Linked DNA regions of Homo sapiens: region 1 is linked to region 2. The links are contacts of gene promoters, found by promoter capture Hi-C in blood cells and fetal thymus (Javierre and others, 2016). All regions are on one chromosome and are shown on one strand. Each heading gives the region's core, a stretch centred on a gene start or on the middle of the fragment in contact. The rest is flanking DNA. Distances are from core to core; before and after follow the strand shown.

Evidence for each region. The method cuts DNA at HindIII sites, captures the fragments that hold promoters and counts their contacts. A CHiCAGO score of 5 or more calls a contact.
Region 1: a fragment that was not itself captured here is called in contact with the fragment with the promoter of AQP7 in region 2 in 1 of 17 cell types (erythroblasts); the score reaches 5.1 in erythroblasts.

The regions. Positions count from the first base shown.
Region 1 is chr9:33,634,097-33,641,314 of GRCh38, forward strand. It overlaps the pseudogene TRBV22OR9-2 and the pseudogene TRBV23OR9-2. Among named protein-coding and RNA genes, the nearest start is that of PTENP1-AS, 40 kb to the right of the region's middle. The HindIII fragment of the contact is 253 bases long and covers 3,795-4,047 here.
Region 2 is chr9:33,398,942-33,406,027 of GRCh38, forward strand. AQP7 (aquaporin 7) reads right to left here and starts at 3,627. Exons shown (of 8, transcript NM_001170.3): 1 at 3,432-3,627; 2 at 2,296-2,346. The coding sequence starts at 2,321. It overlaps LOC105376020 (a long non-coding RNA gene), which reads left to right and starts at 2,580. Exons shown (of 3, transcript NR_188543.1): 1 at 2,580-2,881; 2 at 2,967-3,207. RefSeq lists a silencer at 2,550-2,844 and an enhancer at 5,395-5,952. The HindIII fragment of the contact is 7,387 bases long and covers 1-5,564 here.

The sequences.
Region 1 (7,218 bases), core at 2,671-5,170, 240 kb after region 2:
CAATGACATGTACTGGTACTGGTACTGGCAGGACCCAAAGCAAAATCTGAGACTGATCTATTACTCAAGGGTTGAAAAGGATATTCAGAGAGGAGACCTAACTGAAGGCTACGGTGTCTCCCGAGAGGAGAAGGGGCTGTTTCTTCTCATGGTGAAGCTGGCCCACACCAGCCAAACAGCTCTGTACTTCTGTCCTGGGAGTGCACCACAGTGGAAGCACAGCCATTGTCTCTCTGTGCGGAAATGTGTCCTAGCCCTGTAGTCCCCACCACATCCTCTAGTTTAATTTTTTCATTTTTAATATTTTCTTGAGATTTTCCTATGTCCTGTTACTTTTGCAAACACAAAGGATACAAAACTGAAAAGAAAATAGATCCTTTATCCAAGGAGCTAAGAGTCTAGCAAGAAAGTAATTATAATAGAACGGAAAATATCATATATAATACTACAATCAGAAGTCATTTGGGAGCTTCAGGGAGGACATGCACAATTCTGTTTGATTGAATGAGAAAAAGCAAAGAGGAAGTCCCATTAGAACCTCACCAGATAGACCTGGTTCTGAGTAGAGCATTCCAGGCAAAGAGAACAACTTTTGCAAAGGCATATTAAAGAGTTTGACACTTTGGGGAACAGTTTACAAAGAGAAAGATGATGATCAATGTATATGAATCAAAAGAAATGGAATATATCTGAGGAAGTAGAAAGGAGTTTTTGAAAAAGTTGAGTTTTTGGTTCCATGAATATAATAAGTATGAAAGTCCTTTGTAGGCTGTTGCTCAAAAGAGAGAGCTGAAGCTTGTTATCAGCAAACAAGCAAATGATACAATTTTTCAATTTTCCTCATATAACTTTGATCATTTACAAAGGGCACAATTTCAAACAATATGAAATCACGTTAGCAGTAGCAGTTCCCATTTGGGATAATAGGGTTCAACTGTCTATGGAACAATCAGATAAAAACTAGAAGTACGCAACTGCATAGACAAGATGTGAAATTGAGATGCCATAAAGCTGGACTAGAGGTTGAGATTCTGCAGATTACAGCATGTCAATAATTGAACTGTGGGGACAGAAAATTCCACCCAAATATAGATTTAGATCACAGAGATAAAATGCATGGGAATTAAGACTGTAGTATTCTGGTTCCTTATGGAGAATAAAGAAGCCTGAGAGTGAGGAGTGATTAGAACATGGGATGTAAAAACAAAAGAGGGAAAGAGAGAGAGTGAGAGTTTTGTTTTGTCTGATATTTCTAAGAAAATTAGGGAAAAAAATAAAGGTAACCCAGGCAGAAGAAGCCACAAACACTTCTTGGGTAACAGGGAATAGTCGGTAAAATGTTATATGTTAGTTTACTGAGGTGAACAGAACCTTTTCCATTGAGGTTCCATTTGGAAAGACATAAGACTTAGCTAAGATTCCAAGAAATCACCAAAGTAGGAAATGAAAAACCTCCATGAATGAAGTTGCATGAGTCTGCCTACCAGTGGATAAAGGATAGGATAAAAGAATAGCTGCAAAGGATAAAAGAATAGCTGAGGCACTGAAGTAGAAGCTCCAAGTGAGAGGACTAAATCTAACAGACATGAAGAATTATTATAAGAGAATTATTATAAAACCACAATAATAAAAGTGGTATAATATAGGGGCATTGATATATAAATAGATCCAAGGAAAAAAATACATGTGCATAAACACACAGCAATGGTACTGCAATAATCAAAGAATACATTTTTCAACAAATGGTGATGGGAAAATTGGGTATCTATATAAAGGAAAACAAGTGCAATTGGACACATCTCAATACATAGCCAAAATCAATCCCAGCTATATTAAAAGCATAATTGTAATAAAATCACAAGGCTTCTAGAATACTGTATAATATAAAAGGACATCTTCATGGCCTTAAAGCAGGGAAAGATTTCTTATTCCCTCAATCAGTAGGGAACCGATTGATAAAAATGGCTATATAAAAACTGATATTGAATTTATCAAAGTTAATTATATAAGAGTGACAAGATTGACTGTATAGTGACATATCATTAAATATCTATATATTTATACCAAATTAATATCCCTATCTATATTTATATATTCAAGAAAAGCTAGTATATATAATTTATTTTTTAAAAACCTAGAAACTAATTTTTCTCCAGATCAATGAGAAAAAGGTAACTGTCAATAGAAAAAGTGAGTGAAAACCATAAGCTCCCAGCAAAATCTCACTGGTCATTAAACATGTAAATGTTGCTAAATTTAATAATCAGGGAAATGGAAATTGAGTCCAACGAAATATATACCCACAAGAATCTCTACGATGGTAAAAATAGTAATCTATCAAGTGTTGGCAAGGCAAAAGTGTCAACAAGAATTCTCTGAATCACTGGCTAGAGTGTATATTGGTAGATCTAAGTTGGAAAACAATTTGGCATTACCTAGTAAAGTTCAAGATGTGTGTACCCACTGTCCATCAATTCCACCCTTGAGAAAGGCTTTTCTAGAGAAACACTTCTGTGAAAATCAGGACAAGGATATTCACTGTAATACATCTGTAATAGCAAAAATGCATACAATATCCAAATGTAACTTAACAGAAGAGTAAATAAATTATGGTTTATTATTATAAAGAAATTACACAGCAGTAAAAATTCATGAACTAAAACTAAACACACAAACATGACTGAATTTCACAAATTTGAAGAAAAATTACATTACAGAAGAAAGGTACAGTATTGTCTCATTTGTATAAAGTTTGGAAGCATGTAAAACTAAACACTTTTGTTTGCTTATGTACCTATGTGTTAAAATATGAAAGAGAAGCAAATAAATATAAAAGCAAACACCTCAGTAGAGTTAGAGAACAGAGGCATGGGATCTGGGAAAAGAAATGAGTGCTTTCAAATATTCTGGTAATATTTTATTTCCTGTGCCAAGTTGTTTTTTTAAGTGGTCATTTTGTTGGTATGTTATCAAGTTATTGTCTATATATTCAAAGACAATCTTGTAATGTGGAGGAAACAACCTCACTGAACAATTAAATAAGTAAGGAGAAATCTATGGAAAGATATACATTAAACTGTTAACATTACTTACCTGAAATGAGGATGAGATGGAGGAAGAAAAAAGTAAAAAAATAAATAAATCACCAAAAATGCACTATTTAAAATAAATAGTTACAGAAAGAAAAGCAAAAAAGGGAGGTTATCTAAAAGAAACACTAGTAAATGAACAAGCTAAAATACACCAAAAAGAGCTAAAAGGTGAAGTATTTTTCAAAGCAGTGGCTAGTTTCAGAATCATAAAAATAGCAATTACAATAGAGATCTATATTATACTAAAAGATAATTAGATAATTAATAGCCAGAAGAAATGTCTAGTCGTGAGTTAGAAACTGATGCTCAAATTAATGGCAAAGGACATTTTTGAAACAACTGTAAAACTCTGCATAAAAACTAAATAGCAGATAAGATGAAACTGCATTGATGAGAAAGGATGATGATCATTAACTGAAAAAAAAAGCTTATCAAACAGAATTTCAAGAATATTGTTTATAATAAAAAATAATGTGTCTATATATCTACACATTTATATATGGGGAGAGAAGGATCTAGAAAGACTCTCACTAATGTGTTAACAGTGATAATTGCTTTCTGGCAGTGGTATATTTTTATTTTGTTATTTTATTTTCTAACTTTCTAAAATATCAGTGCTTTGCTTATATTAGCAAAAATAGACATACAATATTTTAAATGAATACAAAATAACTTAGTTATATTTACTGAGTTAGGAATAAAAGCTTTTTTTCCCGATACCATGAAGTGTTTTTGCTCAGAAACATGAAGCAGTAACAAGATGATTATGAATCTGTGGAGCAATCACGTCACAAGAAGGTGCAGACGGGGATGAAAAAGCCTCATCCCTTTGCGACGTCAATGCGACCACGGGCACCAGGCTTCTCGGCTGGGTAGCTCTTTGTCTCCTGGCAGCAGGTGAGCTCTGAGCACAGAATAAAAACCCTTGTCCTGGGCTGGCCAACCCCCAGATCCAAGCTTTGCTGTTGTTGTTAAGGTCTTTCCTGGACTCTGTCTACAGCATCTGTTTCTTTCTCTTACAGGCTGTTTTCATGCCAAAGTCACACAGACTCCAGGATATTTGGTCAAAGGAAAAGGAAGGAAAACAAAGATGTATTGTACCCCCAAAAACGGACATACTTTTGTTTGTTGGTATCAGCAGAATCAGAATAAAGAGTTTATGTTTTTGATTTCCTTTCAGAATGAACAAGTTCTTCAAGAAATGGAGATGCACAAGAAGCGATTCTCATCTCAATGCCCCAAGAACCCACCCTGCAGCCTGGCAATCCTGTCCTCGGAACCGGGAGACACCGCACTGTATCTCTGTGCCACCAGTCCGTCCACAGCACTGAAATGTCAGTTCCTGTTAGCACACAAACTTGCCACAGACCCAGCTCAGGAAGCAGGTGATGTATTAGGTTGGAAGGGAGTAACAGAAAATAACTGGAGCCAGCTTAAGCCACAGTGGAATTTAACACAAGGATAAAGGGTGTTTAGCAGAAGTCAAGAGGTGATGGACAGACAGTTCTGAAAAGGACAGACAGTTCTGAAAAGGCACCACTAGGGCCAGGCTCTAGAATGACTATCTCTCCAGCTCTGATTTTTATTCAGTTTTGCAGCTGCATGCTTTTCTCTCCCTGTACACCATCCCTTTTTCTCCAGGCCTCGTGGTGAGAATGAGATGGTCACTAAAGATTACAAATTCAGTTGCCATAATTTCCCTACAGTGACAAATACCACCCCAGCTCTTTCTAAGCCTGAGTTCAAAATCCCAGGAGAAAAAAACAGATCCGTCATGATCCAGCCATGAACCTTCTCATAGAGCACTCAGCAGTAGGCATGTATGTATGTATTTAAAATCACATAAACGTTACTTTTCCACTCAGCTCAAGCAAGGGAAATGCTCTGTTTTTCAGTATGTACATTCGGTCTGTTGGTTCTGTATGATAGAGAGTACTCATACCCATTTCTTCAGAAATACATACCCAGATTTTCTCTGGTTTCCGGCCAGAATTGAAAATTATTGTACAAATACCTTCATAGACTTGTATGATTGCTTTATAGGATTATATACCAAGAACAAGTTGTGATTGCTGAGACATGTAATTCTATGCATATTTTATCTATCTAAATGCCACCACAGGTTCTTCAGGATCACCGTATACATCTGCAATCCCACATAAAAGTGAATAGGGTGTTTTCCTACATCCTAATACCTCCTTTAATCCTTATCCAGTGATCTAGATTGTTATCAGTATAGCGATGTAAAGAGGTTCCAATCTCCCTCTCTCTCCATCCCCTCAGCCCTGCTCACCCAACACCAGAATATCATCAGTGTTTACCATAAAGAAACAGGTGACAATTCTTTTAAAACTAAATAAAACCAATAATTTAAAGGAACTGAGAGATTACTTTATACTACTATAATAATAGGTGGCAACAATCTAGAAAGCTGAATAATGTTCTCTCCCTCCTTTTCTTTCCCTTGCATTTTTCTAACTACTAATGAATTTGAGCACTTCTTCATGTGATAGTGGTCCTGGATTTCTGTTCTCAAAATGGCCTATCCATATCCTCAGGCAAAATTCTCTATTGAGAGTTCTATATTTTCCTCAACAATTTGTAGGAAGTCCTAAGATATACAAGATATTAGTCTCCTTTTTGAAATTTTAGGCACTGGAAATACCACCACCCAATATGGCACCACCCCTGTCCCAGACTTCAAAGAATTAGTAGATGTGGGAGGAGCCAGGTGGTCTCTTACCTTAGTAGGTGCATGCGTGTTATCTCCATTATGTGAATGAGACTTCTATCTTTCACTTCCACTCTGCTGAGTGCTCAACATGCTGTCTCTTCCATTATTACTCATGTCTTTAAGCAGCATAGAAAAGTTACCAGCCATGGCTGTCCCCAAACTACTGTCACCCATCGACATCCCTTTCCATCCAGAACTGCTGAAAAAAATGCTTCACTTCATTTAGCTGTGCTTTTTTACAATCTGGGGTAAATCTGATTCAAATTAATTTTCATTGCTCTAAGTAGATTATGCTGTCTGATTATAGCAAAGGACAGAAAAACTTCACACATCTTTTTGGAAGACTTAATACTTGCCCACACATTATCTCTTTTAGGGCCAAATTCCATCCACTGCAAACACCAATCTCCTTGAGCTCTTGATATGACAGCTGATCCATTTTGATTCCGCAAATGCTTGCAAAGCAACTCCCATTCACTGAGACATATAGGCACTGAGAAACTTTCAGCTACACTACATTGAATTTTGATTTCTGGGGAAAGGGAGAAGAGTAAAAAGAACCATAAAAATGTATTTCAAGTAATGTGTATAAGGATGACAAAATATAGATTACTTTCATGAAAAACATTAGAACATTATATTCTCTTTGGGAGTGATTTATCATTGGATAAATTAAAACAAATTCCTGAGGAAGTCTGGGAAAAAATAAATTTAGGAAAACAAATTTTAAATGATATCCTGAAAACCATCAGGGTTTACCATAAAGATAACAATCTAAAAAAATCCAACAAACAATTTAATAATGAATGAGAAAATATGAATACAGAAAATTCATATGAATATGGAATGAGATATTAGTAAAAATGTGCTTGAGAACACTTACAAATGAATTTTGTTGTCCAATTTGATTAAGAGTCTAGTCAAAGTGTTACTCTTTTAAACTACTTATAATGGTGTCAGTTTGACAATATGGAACAAAAACCTTTAAAATGCTTATTTTTGGGATTTGGCTTTAAATCAAAAGAGATAGTTGTTACTGTACTTGTCCTATTGCCTTAAGCCACTATAAAACTTGACAAAAATTATAAGACAACTATTTTCAGACATCAGACAACAGGCAGTATGGGGTTGCCATCACTGAGAAAGAGGAAACCTAGAAGGGAAATTTCACTATTGTCCTAAGACTCTGTCTTGGTATGATTTCTGGGCCGCAGCTCCAGGATATGAAGCCCAAGGAGGGGGCAGTGGTCTCTCCAGCATAGGGAGGCAGAGATTGAATTCAGAGCTGTGGACATGGCTGATAGTGATAGGGATAAGCTACTGCAGAGAAGGAAGCTATGCAGAATAAGACCTCCAAATATTGTATGAAGTCTCCTTAACTCTTTGGTCAAA
Region 2 (7,086 bases), core at 2,377-4,876:
TAAAAGCCTGTTTCTTTTCTTTTTCTTTTTCCTTTTTTTTTTTTTTTGAGACAGGGTCTCACTCTGTCGCCCAGGCTGAAGTGCGGTGGTGGCACAGTCACAGCTCACTGAAGCCTAGACTTCCCAGGGTTCAAGCAATCCTCCCGCCTCAGCCTCCCAAGGTGCAGGGATTTCAGGCATGAGCCACCACGCCTGGTGGCTTACTAACCCTTTGACTAACCTATCAAAAACCAACTAACTGATTCTCCTGTTAACCAGCTATTAACTCATTTAATTATCTAATCAACCAGCCAACCATAAACTATCCAACTAACCACGAGCCAACAATTCAACCTGCTAACCAACATTTCTTAATTCAACAAACATTGGTTGGCCAGGCATGGTGACTCATGCCTGTAATCCCAACACTTTAGGAGGCCGAGGCAGGTGGATCACTTGAGGTCAGGAGTTCAAGACCAGCCTGGCCAACATGGCAGAACCCCATTTCCACTAATAATAAAAAAAAAATTAGCTGGGCATGGTGGCAGGCACCTGTAATACCAGCTGGGGGGGGAGGGGCTGAGACATGAGAATCGCTTGAACCCAAGAAGCAGAAGTTGCAGTGAGCCGAGATCATGCCACTGCACTCCAGCATGGGCAACAGAGCAAGACTCCATCTCAAAAAAAAAAAATTTTTTTTTGTTGAGCATCTACTTATGAGTCAAGCACCAGGGATACAAAGTCAAAACCCACTCTCCACCCTTGGGTCACTCTGTTTAATGGAAGAGATGGGTAATGGCAACAACACCAGAGAGAAGCAGCCTGGGACTGGGGGAGCTCAGGGAAGGCATGGGAGGTGAGGCCTGAAGGGGGTTTTGAAGAATGGGCGGGTGGTGGCCTGACATGGCCATGGGGGAGTAGGGTGGTGGTAGAAAGAATGGTGGAAGCTGTGCACATTCTAGATATTTTAGGAGATTGGTGACTGGATGTGAGACATGGGGGAGAGGGAAGTATGAAGGACATGACCTTGACTTCTGGCTTGAGCAACTGAGGAGAAGGGGACCCCTGACTGAGCCAAGAGCACAGGAGGAGTGGACTTGCAGGGGGCGGAGGAGGCTGTTTCCATCTAGGAGCTGAGTTGCCTGTGAGACACCAGTGGGTCTCTAGAAACAGGATCTAAAGCCCTGGAGAGCGATGTAGGCTAGAGGCAATGATGTCAACAGAGTGGCACTATTCATTCTCTCCGTCCAAGTGTACAACAGGCAAATATCCCTGCTTGCGTGGAGCTGACAGCAATGAAATGTAATAAGTAAGTACATTTGTATAAGCGAAGGTACCAGCTCCTACGGAAAAAAACAGAGCAAGGAGAGGGGAATTGGGAGTGCAGGGGCTGGAGATGGGGTGTGATTTCAAATAGGGCAGCCAGAGTAATCCTTGTTGAGAAGGTGGCCTTGGAGCAAAGCCATGAAGGAGACGAGAGTGGGCTGTATGTTAGCTGCAGAAAGCCTCTCAGGTGGAGGGAGACTAGTCACCAGAGGACTCTCAGCATGTTTGAAGAAAGCAAAGAAAGTCAGTGTGAGGCCAGGTGCAGTGGCTCACACCTGTAATCCCAACCTTTTGGGAGGCCAAGGCGGGTGGATCACCTGAGGTCAGGAGTTCAAGAACAGCCTGGCGAACATGGCGAAACCCCATTTCTACTAAAAATACCAAAATAATAATAATAATAATTAGCTGGGTGTGGTAGTGTGTGCTTGTAATCCTGTAATCACAGCTACTCAGGAGGCTGAGGCAAGAGAATCGCTTGAACCCGGGAGGAGGAGGTTGCAGTGAGCCAAGATCATGCCATTGCACTCCAGCCTGGGCGACAGAACTGGATTCCATCTCGGAAAAAAAAAAAAACCTGAAAAGAAACTCAGTGTGGCTGGAGGAGGGAGAGCAGGGGGCTGGAGTGGGGAGGCCAGAAAGCTAACAAGGCTGGGCCTTGGCCATTGCAAGGACTGGCTCTTGTTCACCCCAAAGACAGCTGAGCCTGAGAGGGTGAGAGGTGCTGAGTGCAGTTGAGTTGAAGGCCACCTGCATGCCTTGACCCTCATCCAAGTATTTCTGAGCCTCCCCTCACCCCAGGACCCAGCCCAGGCAACAGGTGGAAGATGCTCTTCTTCTGGGACCTCAGAGGCGAGTGGGTGGGTGGGGAGGAGGAGGTCGAGTGGGGACAGCTGCCCCAAGGGAGAGGCTGAGGATGGAACAGGGAGGGCACTGAAGTGGGCTGGGTGAAGGACAGGGGGCTGGAGGGTGAGAAGAGGGTGGGGTACTTACCGCCTGTGCCCGGATGCTTGAACCATGTTTTGTCTTTCAGATTTGTAGATGCTGAGGAGCCAAAGAGAGGTCACTAGGGCTGGAGGACACAGAACTTGGCCCCACACTTCCATCAGACCTTGGTCCCCAGGGGAGAAGCCCTGGGGCAGCTCCTGCTAGTGCCACTCCCTTAACCCAGCCAAGGAACAGGGAGGGAGGAGCGGTGCTCAGCCAATGAGGCGACGCCCTGGAGCCCCACCCCACCCATGCTGGCCCCAGGACCCCAGCCCCAGGCCAGACCCTCCAGTGCTCCTGCTGACCTTCCGTGTCTGCAGCCCGGCTTTGGACTGTGGAGATGCCCTCAGCCTCTACTCAGTGGCTCCAGCCTCATATTTGCGTGCTATACCTTTAACCTCAAGTCCTCTTGCTGCTAACTTAAGCTGCGACTGTCCAGGACCTGCACACACACACACATGCACGCATGCACACACACACACACAGAAGGTGAACACACAGGATGAGGCCCTGAAAACTCATTTCACCCGTGTACCTCACCCAAAAATTCCCCTTTGTACTCCTATCTTTATCTCTAACTGACAGCATGAAGGTAGCCCGAAGTCCCCTCACCCTGTCTGTCCTCCTGATTCTCTAGCCCAGTTCCCTCTAGCTCCAGCACAGACTCTTATCTCCAGCCCTGACTGCCGAAACCCTCCAGCCCCAGCTCCAGCCCCTCAGGAGGGGACTGCGTGGGAGGAATGACTCCAGCAAGCCGGCAGCTGACCCGTCTCCTGCCTGCACGCCTCCCGCTGTGGTCCACTGCCGGTGGTCTTCAGCTCTCTCCTCGTCCCACCCCCATGGTCTGCTGACAGCCCAGCTCAGTGCATCCCTGCCATCTCTGCTCTACCGCTGGTCCTCCCAACAACCAACTTACAGGTAAGGAAACTGAGGCCCAGAGAGAGGGTGTATGTGCCTGTGTCACACAGCAACACAGGACTGCACCATAACAAGAAAGCCGGGACTTCCACTCCCAGACGGGGCTCCTTCCCCAAACAATCCCTCAGTCACCTCCTCCCTGTATGGTACCCAGGGAATGGCCCTTCCAGATCTGGGCGCTGAGGAGGCTGCCCCATCCCCACCCTGCCTGGAGCCCCACTCACTCTGCTGAAATGTCTCTGATTCTCAGCCTCCGCCTTGGGGGCTTCTCAGTTACAGCGCATCTTGATCTTGTTCCTCCGTGACTGTCCCTGGCTCAGCTTCCACCCCCAGCTGGGGCTCAGCTATCCCTGTGTCCCCAGTCCAGAGCCTGCCTCTCAGCTCTCCCAGGGCGGCCTCGAGCGCTGCTCCTGCTCCTCCAGGGGAGAGGTCAGTAAGGCAGGGGTTTGGCTGGTGCCACTTGAACCAAGTCCAGATGCACTGCCCAAAATAACATCCCTCGTCCGGCCAGCAGTGCCGTGGAGACCGAGTTCTGAAGCAGGCCTTTGTGAGGTCAGAGGTGGAGCTCTGGGTGGGCACTCTGGGCCTCTCAGTCCCAGAGGAAAGGCCTGTCCTCCAAGCCAATGTGCAGCCTGACTCTGGGGCCAGCGCCTGAGGAAGCCCTCCCTGAGCCCCAGCCCTGGGGAAGGCTGAAGAGGCCTCTGAGCCCCCAGCGCTGGGGAGAGCTGTGCAGAATAGGACTGGAGGTGGAAGTGTTGGAGATTAACAGCCAGGTGGAGGGGACGGGGGAGGCCCTGGGTCAGTCCTCAGGGAACCCCCATTGTGAAGGGGGAAAGGGAAACTCAGGCCCAGTCCTCAGGGGCCCCCAGTCTGAGAGGAAGGAGGACACACGAGCCATATTTGCAGAGAAACACCAGCCTGCGAGAGGAGGTAGAAGCCCAGGCCTGGCCCTCCGAGGGCCCCTAGTCTGAGGAGCAGTCCACCTGTCCTCGGGAAAACACCTCCCTTAGGAAAGGCCAGCAAGGCCCCCGTAAAGGACCCAGAGCTGGATCGGGACATCGGGCTCGGGGCTCAGCGGTGTGGGAGCTCCGGGACCGAGGTGCAGTCAGGAGAGACCCTGGGGGCCAGCAGCAGTCCCAGAGGACTTTTGGAGCCAAGGCCTGACTGGGTCTCAAACAATGGGGCAGGCAGTTTGGGGTTTCAGCAGGTGGCCCAGTGCTGAGACACAAGGGAGGTGTTTCTGGTCTGCAGACACTGAGGACGCTTGCTATGTGGCGTGGTGGACGGTGGGTAAGTCCTGGGAACTTCCGGCACCAGGCTCCATGGGTGGGAAGGGGCATAAGATTCAGTTGTCCAAAGCTCAGGTCTGGGAATGGAACTGTCCTGTAGAGGGTGCCAAAGACCAGGTCTGGAACCTGCATAGCCCCAGTCCCCACCCCTGCACACACCCTCCCACCCCTTCCAGCTTTTTCTGCAGATCTTTCTGCAGGGGTGAGGCAGGGAGAGGAAGGGGTCGGCCACAGTCCCGGGGCTTCCTAGTCAGAAGCCCTCTGTAAGGCACTAACTTCCCTCTGCAGATTCTTTTTTTTTTGAGACGGAGTCCCGCTCCGCCCAGGCTGGAGTGCAGTGGCACAGTCTTGTCTCACCACAATCTCTGCCTCCCAGTTCAAGTGATTCTCCTGCCTCAGCCTCCCAAGTAGCTGGGATTACAGGCATGCACCACCAAGCCCAGCTAGTTTTTTTGGATTTTTAGTAAAGACGGGGTGTCACCATGTTGGTCAGGCTGGTCTCGAACTCCTGACCTCAGGTAATGCACCCGCCTCGGCCTCCCAAAGTGCTGGGATTATAGGTGTGAGCCACTGCGCCCGGCCTCCCTCTGCAGATTCTACGTGGGCTCAAGATTCAGCCTTTCTTCCTCAGGAAGGGAGGGGTGCACGCTTGGAAATGGGAGAGTCCTGCCTTTTTTCCTTTCCCATGTGTGCTCCCAGGGCCGGGATGAGGTCATGTTAGAAGTGGATCTGGGGTCTTGGATGAGGTCAGCACTTGGGCAGAGTTGGAATGGGCTGGTGTCAGGTTGGTGAGGGAGGGAATTGGGATCCATGCTGGGGTCAGAGATCAGGCTCTAAGCTCTTTTACAGGGCTTGACCCTGGGGACTGAGAGGTGGAGAAGACACAGTCCCATCTGTCTCACGGCAGAGACAGGTAAGCAGCAGGTGACTTAGGACACACCAGATAGGCTGGAAGGAATACAGACGGGGCTATCCCAAGCTGGAGGGGTACAAGGGTCTTCCGTTAGAGGTGACGTGGGAACTGAGTTTTCCAAAACGAGCAGGGGGATGGGGCACCGGGGCATTTGAAGCTTGATGGGATTGTGAGAAAACCTGGGAACTGCGAGTGACTTGCAGAGGGCTGCGGAAGTGGGCAGGGATAGACCATGAAGGGCTTTGTCAGCCAGGCCAAGGAGTTCTGACTTTAACCCGAGGGCCTGAGGAGCCTGCAAAGGGTTCTAAACAAAGAGAAGAGCAACAGGGTCAACCTGAGGTCCCTGAGGCCCCAGGGCATCCAGCAGGCAGAGGCGCAGTTGGGCCTGGGCTGGGGAGAGGAGTCTAGCTGGAGAAAGAGAAGAGGAGATATCAGCCCCTGGACATTCAGCACTAGAGTTGCTGGGGCTGCCCAAGAAGCACAGGGAGTGAGGCAAGGGCCAGGGCCAGGATTCTGGGGAAGAAGGATGACGAAGAAGGAGTGGGTGTGGAAGGAGCTGGAAACCCAGACACAGGGCTGCCCAGAGGCTGATGGGAGCCAGTAGGGGGCTGTTGCCCCAGAGTTGGGTGCTGGGAGGGGCTGGCCAGGCAGGTGTTTGCAGACAGCTGCCTGGATGAGCTGGTGGGGATAGAGGGTGGCAACAGCACTGAAGAAGCAGAGGCTGAGGAGGCAGAAAGTTCAACTGCAGAGAGAAGAGAGGCAGCTAAAGGGGCCACCAAGGTGGGAGTTTGGGTCAGAGCTGTGAAGCATGTTAGTCTGCACAGAGCCTGCGGCGGGGGGTCTCTGGGTCTCTGAGCCAGTGGAGATAGTTGGGGGGCAGAGAGGGAGGGGACACCCGGGGTCCTTTCTTCATAGGATGGGCTTGAGTAGAGTTACCAGATAAAATATAAGATGCCCAGTTAAATTTAAATTTCAAAGAAACAATATTTGCCACAACCTTATACCTGGTATACCTTTGGTCTAAACTCAGGCCCTCTTGATGCTTAAACTGTGACTGTCCAGGACCTACACACACACACACACACACACACACACACACACACACACACACACACACAGAGTTTTATTTTTAGCAAATAAAAATATAGCCAGGTGCATTGGCTCACTCCTGTAATCCCAACACTTTGGGAGGCTGAGGTTGGTGGATCACCTGAGATCAGGAGTTCGAGACCAGCCTGGCCAACATGGTGAAACCCCGTCTCTACTAAGAATACAAAAATTAGCCAGGTATGGTGGCAGGTGCCTGTAATCCCAGCTACTCAAGAGGCTGAGACAGGAGAATTACTTGAACCCAGGAGGCAGAGGTTGCAGTGAGCTGAGATGGCACCACTGCACTCCACCATGGGTGATAGAGTAAGACTCTGTCTCAAAATAAATAAATATATAAAAATAAAACAAAATACTTTTTTATTTTATTTTATCTTTTGAGCCAGAGTTTCGCTGTTGTCACCCAGGCTGGAGTGCAGTGGTACAATCTTGGCTCACTGCCACCTCCACTTCCCGGATTCGAGTGATTCTCTTGCCTCAGCCTCCCGAGTAGCTGGGACTACAGGCATGAGCCACTACACCCAGCTAATTTTTGTATTTTTAGTAGAGATGGGGTTTCACCATGTTGGC